3 separate regions of the Homo sapiens genome follow, and all the other regions are linked to region 3. Evidence: promoter capture Hi-C in human tissues and cell types (Jung and others, 2019). All regions are on one chromosome and are shown on one strand. Each heading gives the region's core, a stretch centred on a gene start or on the middle of the fragment in contact. The rest is flanking DNA. Distances are from core to core; before and after follow the strand shown.

Region 1 (3,120 bases), core at 336-2,835, 850 kb after region 3:
GAAGCCAAATGGTCGGAAACCGTTACCCGCTCTCCTAGGCCCGGCTAGTGGGGACCCCAACCGCCTGCGGCTGCCCCTCCCAAGTTCCTCCCTGTTGGCCAGGCATCCAGGTCTCCAGTCTCCGAGCTGCGGAGAACCCACCGCCACATGCGGCTGCCCCTTTCCATTCGACCCTGTGGGGAGCCAGGCTTCCGGGGCCCCGTTCCTCCTGTGTGAACTGGGCCCCCCGCCCCCATTCCCAGACATCAAGGCCGCGTCTCCAGATAGCCACGATTTCATTCCTCGCTCCCCACAGGTCCCTCTCCCCAAAATATTCCCATCTTGTCCTAGCCCATCCCCCAGACTATCTCAAGGACCAGCTGTCCCCACGCCCCCGACCTCCACTAGGCCTGTGCCACCCGCTGCCTGCAGGAAGACGCCCGGTCCCGGGCCGGGTTAGCCCCATGGGAACGGTTTGTCTCGAAAACAGGAACCCGAGCTGGGGGCTGGGCGGGGCGCCCCTTCCCCACCGCAGTCCGCTTCCTGCCCCTCCCGGCTTCCTCCGCCCGACACCCAGGCAGGGCGGGGGGCACTGGGGCGTCCGCGGTTGGGGGAGGGGCTCTTCGTTTCGGTCCCCCCTCCGCGTCCCGGGCGGCGGGGCCTCCGGTCGCCCGCCCTCGGGGCAGCTAGTGGCGCAGCCCCCCGCCCGCGGCCCTGGCCTCCCGGGCGGCGCGGCAGGGGAGGGGTTAAGCTGCCGCAGGGACCGCCGCGTGCGGGGCGAGAGGGAGCCCCCGGTGGGGGTGGCGCAGCCGGCGGTGCGGAGCTCCGCGCAGGGGCGGAGGGGGGAGGGGGCAGCCTGGCGCGGGGGCGGGGGCGGGGCGGCGGGGAGCGGGGCCGCGGCGTGGAGAGCGGGCGGGAGCCGCAGCCGCAGCGAGGCCGGCGGGCGGGAGCGCACGGAGGTGGGGTCGGCCAGGCCGGTGCGGGCTCCTTGCGGCAGGTCCCAAGAGTGAGTGGGCGAGCGCGGGCGGGGCGCCAGGCGAAGGAGGGCGCGGCCCCCAGCGACTCCCCCCCCGCCCAGGGCGGCGCGGGCGGGCTGGGGGCGGCGAGCGGGTGGGGAGTCTGCGGCCCGGGTCTGGGAGAGGGGGCAGCGGCCACGAGAGCTAAGGCGCGCTGGATCCCCGGAGGGCGGAGGACCTCCACGGTGCACCCAGCTTTTCCCAGCCACCTTCCAGCGGGGCCCTCCCCCGCGTACCCCCATTTGGCAGATGAGAAAATTGAGGCTCCCAGAGGCCAAGTGATTCTCAAGGTCACACGAGGAAGCGGTAGAGCCAGGCGGGGACGGCTCTGGGTGGCTCTTAGGAAAAGTCCGCCTGAGAACTCCGTACAGGAGCTCCCCTGTCCTCCAGCCTGGGGGAGTGAGTATGTGTAGGGCCGGGGTACCTTTCCGTGGGGCAAGGCTCTGCCAAAATCTGGGAGTGAGGGGAGTCAGGGAGCTGGGGCCGCAGGGCGGGCCCTGCACCGCAAATGGGAGGGGGGCGACGGAATGGGCGTGCGCACCCATGGGGGTGTGTGCATGTGTGTGGGAGTGTACATGCGTGGAGAGGCACTGCCTTGCGTGTGTGCACACGTGTGAGGATGTCAGCGCCTGTGTGGCCGCGGGACTCAAGGCTGGCCTGGCTCAAGTGAACAGCACGTCCAGGAGGCGACCTCGTCCGCGGGTTTGCATTCTGGGGTGGACGAGCTGGGTATGTGTGCCTGAGGGTTTCTTCGTGCAGGTGTGCACAGGGTGTGGGTGCCATTGTGTGTGAGAGACGGAGGATGGGAGGCCGGTGCCTGTGGCCCGGTGCGTGTAAGTGCGGACGCCTGCACCTCCACTTAGGTCCCCGGCCTCCGACGAATAACTTGGGTGTGGAGTGTTTGCCCCTGCCAGGGTGCGTATGACCCCGCCAGTGACCGGAGTTGCTAATGGTGTCATGCACCCACCGGCCACCCTTGGCGCGAGCGCCCCCCTCTGGACACCCTGCTCCGTGCGCGCTCACAGTTCGCCTGTGCGGGGCCGGGGCCAGGGTCAGGAGCCGGGGATAGGGAGGAAGAGGGCCTGTGGACAAGCTGAGCCGGGACCCCTGGGACCTTTGCGGAGGTGGCCTGGGAGCGCTCAGTTCCCAGGCTCAGGCTTCCCGCTGACGCCTCCTGGCCGCAGCGGGCTCCCCCCGCCCCAGGAATGTTCCTCTCCCATCCAGTCCGCCTCCCCTAGGGCAGGCCCCCTGGGGGCTGCCGCAGCCCCGCCTCGCCTTCCTGGGCTCCCGGGAGGGGGCGAGGCGGGCAGGACGCCTGGGTTCTCTCCCCCCACCTCCCATACCAGGGAGAAATTCCTCCGAGGTCCCCTCAGGCTCTGGGTTCCCAAAATAACCCTGCGGGGGAAGGGAGGCTGTGGAGGGAGGGAAGCGGGAGGGGCGCAGAGCCGAGCTGCGGGGTGCTGCAGGTGCCTCTGGGGAGAGGGCGCGAGGAGAAGGCGCCCTGCGGGGGGCTGGGCGCCAGCCAGTCCTGGGATCTTGGTTCGTCCCCATCCTCGTGAAGCCCCTCGGCCTTCCCGCGACTCCGAGGGTGGGCCGGAAGCCTCTCTGCGGGTCCGTTTCCCAACTGGCGGGTTGCACCATCCCGGGCCAGACCGTTTAACCCCGGGAGTGGCCGCGGGGGACAACTCCGCCCCTGTCCAGCAGGGGGCGTGCCCGCCCCGCCCCGTTTCTGCCCGCGGGGCCGCTCCCCCGCCCGCGACTCCGCAGACTCCCGCTCTGCCTCTCCCGGGACAGGGGTTCGGTCCGAGCCCGGTGGGAGGCTCCCGGAGCGCAGCCTGGGCCCAGCCCACCCCGCGCCGGCGGCCATGGCAGGCACCCTGGACCTGGACAAGGGCTGCACGGTGGAGGAGCTGCTCCGCGGGTGCATCGAAGCCTTCGGTGAGTGGCTCGGGAGGGCACACGGAGCCTGAGCCTAGCCCCGAGTCTGAGCCCGGGTCCCTGCCTCCCAGGCACAGTCCAGGGCACAGCCCTGACCCGGACCCACCCTGCTCCGCAGCGTGCAGTCTCTTTAACGAAAGCCTCCTCCGCAACGCAGGGCAGAGAGATGCACGCCCTTCAGACAGAT
Region 2 (3,151 bases), core at 152-2,651, 530 kb before region 3:
AGAGACGAGGTTTCACCATGTTGGCCAGGCTGGTCTTGAACTCCCGACCTCAAGTAATCTGCCTGCCTCGGCCTCCCAAAGTGCTGGGATTACAGGCATGAGCCACCATGCCCGGCCTGCCCAGATATTTTAAACAGGACTGATTTTCTTCAATTACTTGAATACCTGAATTATCCCAGTTTTCTATTTTATTTTATCTACACAGGCATAGTTAGACACTGGTTAGAGTAAGACTAGAGGCAAAAGACACCCCTGGTTACTCTACTTGAATCTGTGAGTAATGTGTATTTTCATACACTTTGAATTATTTAACATGACTTAGCTCTCTGACCCTGGAAAATCACTCTGAATCCAGAACATCTTCAAAATAGAGGATGGAATAAAATTGCTTCTAAGATCCTTTTGACTTACTTGGTTTATATCTTCTTTACTATGGGATCAAATCCCATTAAACAGCAAGTCAGTGGCTCAAAATATTTCAAATACTAGAACTTCATTGTAGCAAATGATGCTAAAAGTAGAAATTTAATTGCAATAAGATTTGGTCTACGCATTAATTGATGTGGTACTTTAATTTTTTATTTCCGTAGGTTTTTGAGATTTTGGTGCACCCAACACCCAAGCAGTATACACTGTACCCAATTTGCAGTATTTTATCCCTCACCTGCCTCCTGCCCTTTCACCCGAGTCCCCAAAGTCCATTGTATCATTCTTATGCCTCTGCATCCTCATAGCTTAGCCCCTAGATGCTGTATTTTTAAAAAGAATTTATTGTTCACCAATGTTCATAGCAGCATTATTCACAATGGACAAAAGGTGGAAGCCACCCAAATGTTCATCAATAAAGAGACAGACATGGAAAGAAACAGTTCCTCCTCCTCAATGGGATGTTCTGGTGTCTCCCTGTGGCACCTGGAACTGCGACAGGCCACCTGAGACCATGGGGAGCCAGCGGGCAAGCCTGTACTGAGGATGACAAAGCAGGAGGGCAAAATGAACTTGGCTCCTTGATGCCTTTGCCAGGCTGCTCAGTTAACCAGCACTGGACTCACCCTTGCCCCAGACTTTTGTTTTCTGAAATGATAAACATCTGTGTGTTTAAGTCATTGAGCTGGCTTTTCTGTTTCTTGAAGGTGAAAGCATTCTAACTGATGACACACACTGACCTAAGATGTCTGACACACCATGAGACTTATGCAGTAATGAAAGGCAGAGTTTGATCTCCATAATTAACAAACTCACTGAAAGGCAAAATACACCGTTCTTGTCATTAAAATGCAAGAAAGGCTTCAGAGCAGGTAAAGAACAAGGTTAAAGTGCAGTAAGCAGATCCATACATTTAGCCATTCAATACATAAACGTGGACCCAGAAGTTATCCTGAATGAACCAATTATGCCCCACTTCAGAAATATTAGAAGATGATGACTTAAAATACTGTCTTTATGATCACAACAACCCTAACTATATAACTCTAGGTTATATTATTCCCATTTTATAGATGAAGACACTGAAGCAGAGAAGAAGCTGAGTAACTTGCCCAAAGCCATTATGTCCACAGTTTTCTCTGCCTGGAACTCTTCCTTCTCTTCACTTAGCTAATTCCCACACATCCTTCAGGTTTCAACTTAAGCAATCACTCCTTAGGAAAAAGGCTTCTTTTATGTGTTCAGACAAGGTCCAGAGCTCCTATTATGCTCCACTGCACTCCTGTTCTATGGCAGCATTTTGCACACTTGAGATTAAATATTTGTCTTCCCACTAGAATGCCCATGGCCTGAAACAGTTCCGTCTTTTTTACAACTAGACGGTATTGCCAAAGCTGCGCAGAATGCCTGCCCTTGACAGTCTCACAGTCTGATAGCGAGACAGCAAGTAAACAGTTCCTTGGAGATATTGTGGCTTTAGTTCCAGACCACTGCAATAACGCAAGTGACATGAAATTATTTATTTCCCGGTGCATATAAAAGTTATGTTTACACTATACAGTAGTCTATCAACTGTGCAATAGCATTGTCTTAAAAAAAAAAAAAGTATATACTTTAATTTAAAAATGGGCTGGGTGCGGTGGCTCACGCCTGTAATCCCAGCACTTTGGGAGGCTGAGGTGGGTGGATCACGAGGTCAGGAGATCGAGATCATCCTGGCTAACACGGTGAAACCCCACCTCTACTAAAAACAACAAAAATTAGCCGGGCGCGGTGGCAGGTGCCTATAGTCCCAGCTACTTGGGAGGCTGAGGCAGGAGAATGGCATGAACCCGGTAGGTGGAGCTTGCAGTGAGCCGAGATCACGCCACAGCACTCTAGCCTGGGCGACAGAGCGAAACTCTGTCCCAAAAAAATAAATAAATAAATAAAATAAAAAAATAAAAATGGCTTATTGAGCCAGGCGTGGTGGCTCACGCCTATAATCCCAGCATTTTGGGAGGCCGAGGCAGGTGGATCACCTTAGGTCAGGAGTTCAAGACTAGCCTGGCCAACATGGCAAAACCCTGTCTCTACTAAAAATACAAAAATTAGCTGGACATGGTGGCACGTGCCTATAATCCTAGCTACTTGGGAGGCTGAGACAGGAGAATTGCTTGAACCCAGAAGGCGGAGGTTGCAGTGAGCCAAGACCATGCTACTGCACTCTAGCCCGGGCAACCAAGCAAGACTCCGTCTCATTAAAAAAAAAAAAAAAAAGCTAACAATTTTCTGAGCCCTCTGCAAGTTGCAATCTTTCTCCTGGTGGAGGGTCTTGCCTCAATGTTGATGGCTGCTGACTGATCAGGATGGTGACTGCTAAAGGTTGGGGTATCTGTGACAATTTCTTAAAATAAGACAATGAAGTTTGTCACACTGACTCTTCCTTTCATTAAAGATTTCTCTAAAGTATGCAATACATTTGATAGCATGCTACCCACAGCAGAATTTCTCGCAAAATTGGATTCAGTTCTCTCAAACCTTACTGCTGCTTTATCACTAAGTTTATGTAATACATAGTTATTGTTATAAATTATTGTAATACATTATCATTTCAACAGTGTTCACAGCATCTTTACCAGGAGTAGGTCCCATCTCAAGAAACCACTTTCTCTGCTCATCCACAAGAAACATCTGTTCAAATTTTATCTCGAGATTACAGCAATTCAGTCATATCCTCAGACCC
Region 3 (2,954 bases), core at 46-2,545:
GGAGAATAGCTTGAACCCGGGCGGCGAAGGTTGAGTGAGCCGAGATTGCACCACTGCACTCCAGCCTGGGCGACAGAGCGAGACTCCATCTCAAAAAAAAGAGTAGTAAGTTCCACCCACCTCCCAGTATGGTGACTTGCCATGGCATCTGGCACCCCTGACAGTTCTCTTCACACTGCCATGGGGGCTCTGGCACTCCCACACCATACCCTAGGGCAGGGTCCCTCCCTCGGCCTCTGTCCATTCTCTTCACACTGCCATGGGGGCTCTGGCACTCCCACACCATACCCTAGGGCTGGGTCCCTTCCTTGGCCTCTGTCCTCAGCCCCTCTGACGTTAGAGGAGTTGGAACCCAGGCTCCCCCTTCCCCTCTCCCAGGTGCCCCATGGCAGCCCAGACTCTGTGTCTGCAGTTCAGGGGCAGGGAGTCAGGAGGGCAGGCACAAAGCGTTCTCAGGAAGAACTGGCAATCGGGCGCAAGGGTATCATCTGCCCGGGTGCTCTGGGCACCCTGGAGTCCTCTCCCCACCTCCCACCCCCACCTGATCCTTCCCAGCTGCCACCATTCCTCTCCCACCACACCACCCAGGCCAAAATCACTCCATCCATGACGCCTACAGTAGCCCAGCGTAGGTCTCCCTGGACCACATTTATCCTCAAGGGCCTGTGTCCTTATCCCCCCTTCACCCCCAACTCTCCCCTGCCACAGCCAGCCCTCTGTTCCTCTCACACCCCAAGCTCATTCCTACCTTCACTGGCCTCTTACTCCCCAGCTGAAATATCACCTCCTTAGCAGAGCTTTCCCAGTGAGATAACCCCCCCGCTCCCCGCAGAGCTCTCCCATCACCCAGGGTGTTTCCTTCATGGAACTCATGACAATGTGAGGTTGCCATGTTTCTTTGCTAAGAGGTTTCTTGTGTAAACACCAGGAAGGAAAGGACCTGTGCCTGTCCTCTTCCCTAAGCACTTGAATGAATGAATGAATGAATGAATGTGGTATGGGTGCCTGAGTGAGCAGGACCTTGAATAAGTGTGAGGTCCTCTCTAGGCTTCAGCTTCCTCCGCCTCCTCCCCTCACCGCAGCCGCCTTCCTCCACCCATCCCCACCATCCCAGCTGCTGTGAAATGGGCAAATGTCTTGCCTCCAGGACCTGGGAAGGGTGATGCAGCTCACCTCCCTCCTGTTCACACCCCAGCCACCCCAGCCATCCCAGCCGGGTCCCAGCCACCCACACAGCACCTCCTCCTGGCCCCGCCCTGCCCAGCCCCTCCCAGGTGCCTGAGGTGGAGCCGCCAGTTCCCACAGCACCCCAGCGGCCTGCCATGGGGGGTCTAAGGCCCTGGTCCCGATACGGGCTCCTGGTTGTGGCCCACTTGCTGGCCCTGGGGCTTGGGGCTGTGGTGTTCCAGGCCCTGGAGGGGCCTCCTGCATGCAGGCTTCAGGCTGAGCTCAGGGCAGAGCTGGCAGCCTTCCAGGCAGAGCATAGGGCCTGCCTGCCACCCGGAGCTCTGGAAGAGCTGCTGGGCACTGCCCTGGCCACCCAGGCCCATGGGGTCTCCACCCTGGGCAACAGCTCAGAGGGCAGGACCTGGGACCTTCCCTCAGCCCTGCTCTTCGCTGCCAGCATCCTCACCACCACAGGTAAGAGAGCCAGGCAGCCAAGTCGGGGGGTGCGGCTCCAAGAGGCCATGGCTCCCTGGGGGCTTTGGGGTTCATGCAGCCCTTCCTTCAGCCCCAAAGAGCCAGATGGAGCCCAGGCCCTGTGAGGCCTGACATCACAGCTGGGGCTCCCCACCAACACACCCCAACTGGTGCCTCCACTTCAACTGCCAGGAAGGGTGTGGCCTCCCCAGTCCCACCCCAGGCACCCTTTGAGACCCAGGAGAGCTGCCCAGATGCCACAGCCTGTGGCCAGATAGGGGATACAATACAGTGGGATGGATTCTTGGATGGAAGCAAATAGAATGAACCTGGGAAGGACAGATCAGGACCATGGCCTCGGGTGGGGGAGTGAGGGAAGATAGGGGAGGAAGTCGGCATGAGATGCTTGTGGATCAGGAGGGCACAGACAGGGATGAGGGAGTCCTGCAGAGAAATCGCGTGGGCACAGGCCCAGGGAAAAGCAGCAATGAGACCCACAGCCCTGGGTTTTCGTATTTTTTGCCCCACAAAGTGTCTCAGTATTTTTTGAATTGGAATTTGTATTTCCAACTTTTTTTTTTTTTGAAACGGTGTCTGACCCTGTCACCCAGGCTGGGGTGCGGTGGTGCGATCTTGGCTCACTGCAACCTCCACCTCCCGGGTTCTAGCAATTCTCCTGCCTCAGCCTCCTGAGTAGCTGGGACTACAGGCATGCACCACCATGCCCGGCTAATTTTTGTGTTTTTAGTAGAGACGGGGTTTTGCCATGTTGGCCAGGCTGTTCTCAAACTCCTGACCTCAAGTGATCCACCTGCCTCAGCCTCCCAAAGTGTTGGGATTACAGGTGTGAGCCACTGTGCCCAGCTCATATTTCCAACTTCTTTTGGAAAATCAGGAAACCCACTCACACTGAGCCAGAATCCCTGCAAGGCAACATCCTGACTGGAGCAGAATGGGGCCTGCCCTTTGGATACAGCTCACACTTTCCAGTGTACCCCTGTCCCCACCACTCCTGTTTGTCTCCCATCTGGCTCCGGTAGGCATGTGCGTTTGCAGCTCTGTATTAGCTGATCCTGTTCTCCCAGCACACCCCGCACTCCCACCCCTCCCCGCCTGGCACATGCCCTCTCTCGCCCATGCTGCCTCTTTGCAGCCCTTCATGATTTGCCTGCCCGACTCCCCCACCAGAAGGGGCAGGGCCTGGGCTGATTCAGATCCCAGTACAAAGCCTGGCACACAGGACATGACACACATTTGGGGAAAGAGTGGATGATATTCCACCAGCTGTGGAATCGGGAGTATCTGTTAAGGGC

The links. Contacts are between HindIII fragments. The study calls those that stand out against the background at their distance.
Region 1: the fragment with the promoter of RASGRP2 here is called in contact with the fragment with the promoter of KCNK7 in region 3 in 1 of the 25 tissues and cell types used here (spleen).
Region 2: a contact is called between a fragment that was not itself captured here and the fragment with the promoter of KCNK7 in region 3, in 1 of the 25 tissues and cell types used here (stomach).

What each region holds. Positions count from the first base shown.
Region 1 is chr11:64,742,607-64,745,726 of GRCh38, reverse strand. It overlaps RASGRP2 (RAS guanyl releasing protein 2), which reads left to right and starts at 1,585. Exons shown (of 17, transcript NM_001098671.2): 1 at 1,585-1,724; 2 at 2,790-2,933. The coding sequence starts at 2,861. RefSeq lists silencers at 469-668, 919-1,028, 2,019-2,068, 2,229-2,278, 2,589-2,918. The HindIII fragment of the contact is 18,641 bases long and covers 1-3,120 here.
Region 2 is chr11:66,122,724-66,125,874 of GRCh38, reverse strand. All of the region lies in intron 1 of PACS1 (phosphofurin acidic cluster sorting protein 1), which reads right to left. Among named protein-coding and RNA genes, the nearest start is that of PACS1, 54 kb to the right of the region's middle. The HindIII fragment of the contact is 8,035 bases long and covers 1-3,151 here.
Region 3 is chr11:65,594,141-65,597,094 of GRCh38, reverse strand. KCNK7 (potassium two pore domain channel subfamily K member 7) reads left to right here and starts at 1,295. Exons shown (of 3, transcript NM_033347.2): 1 at 1,295-1,641. The coding sequence starts at 1,323. The HindIII fragment of the contact is 18,543 bases long and covers 1-2,954 here.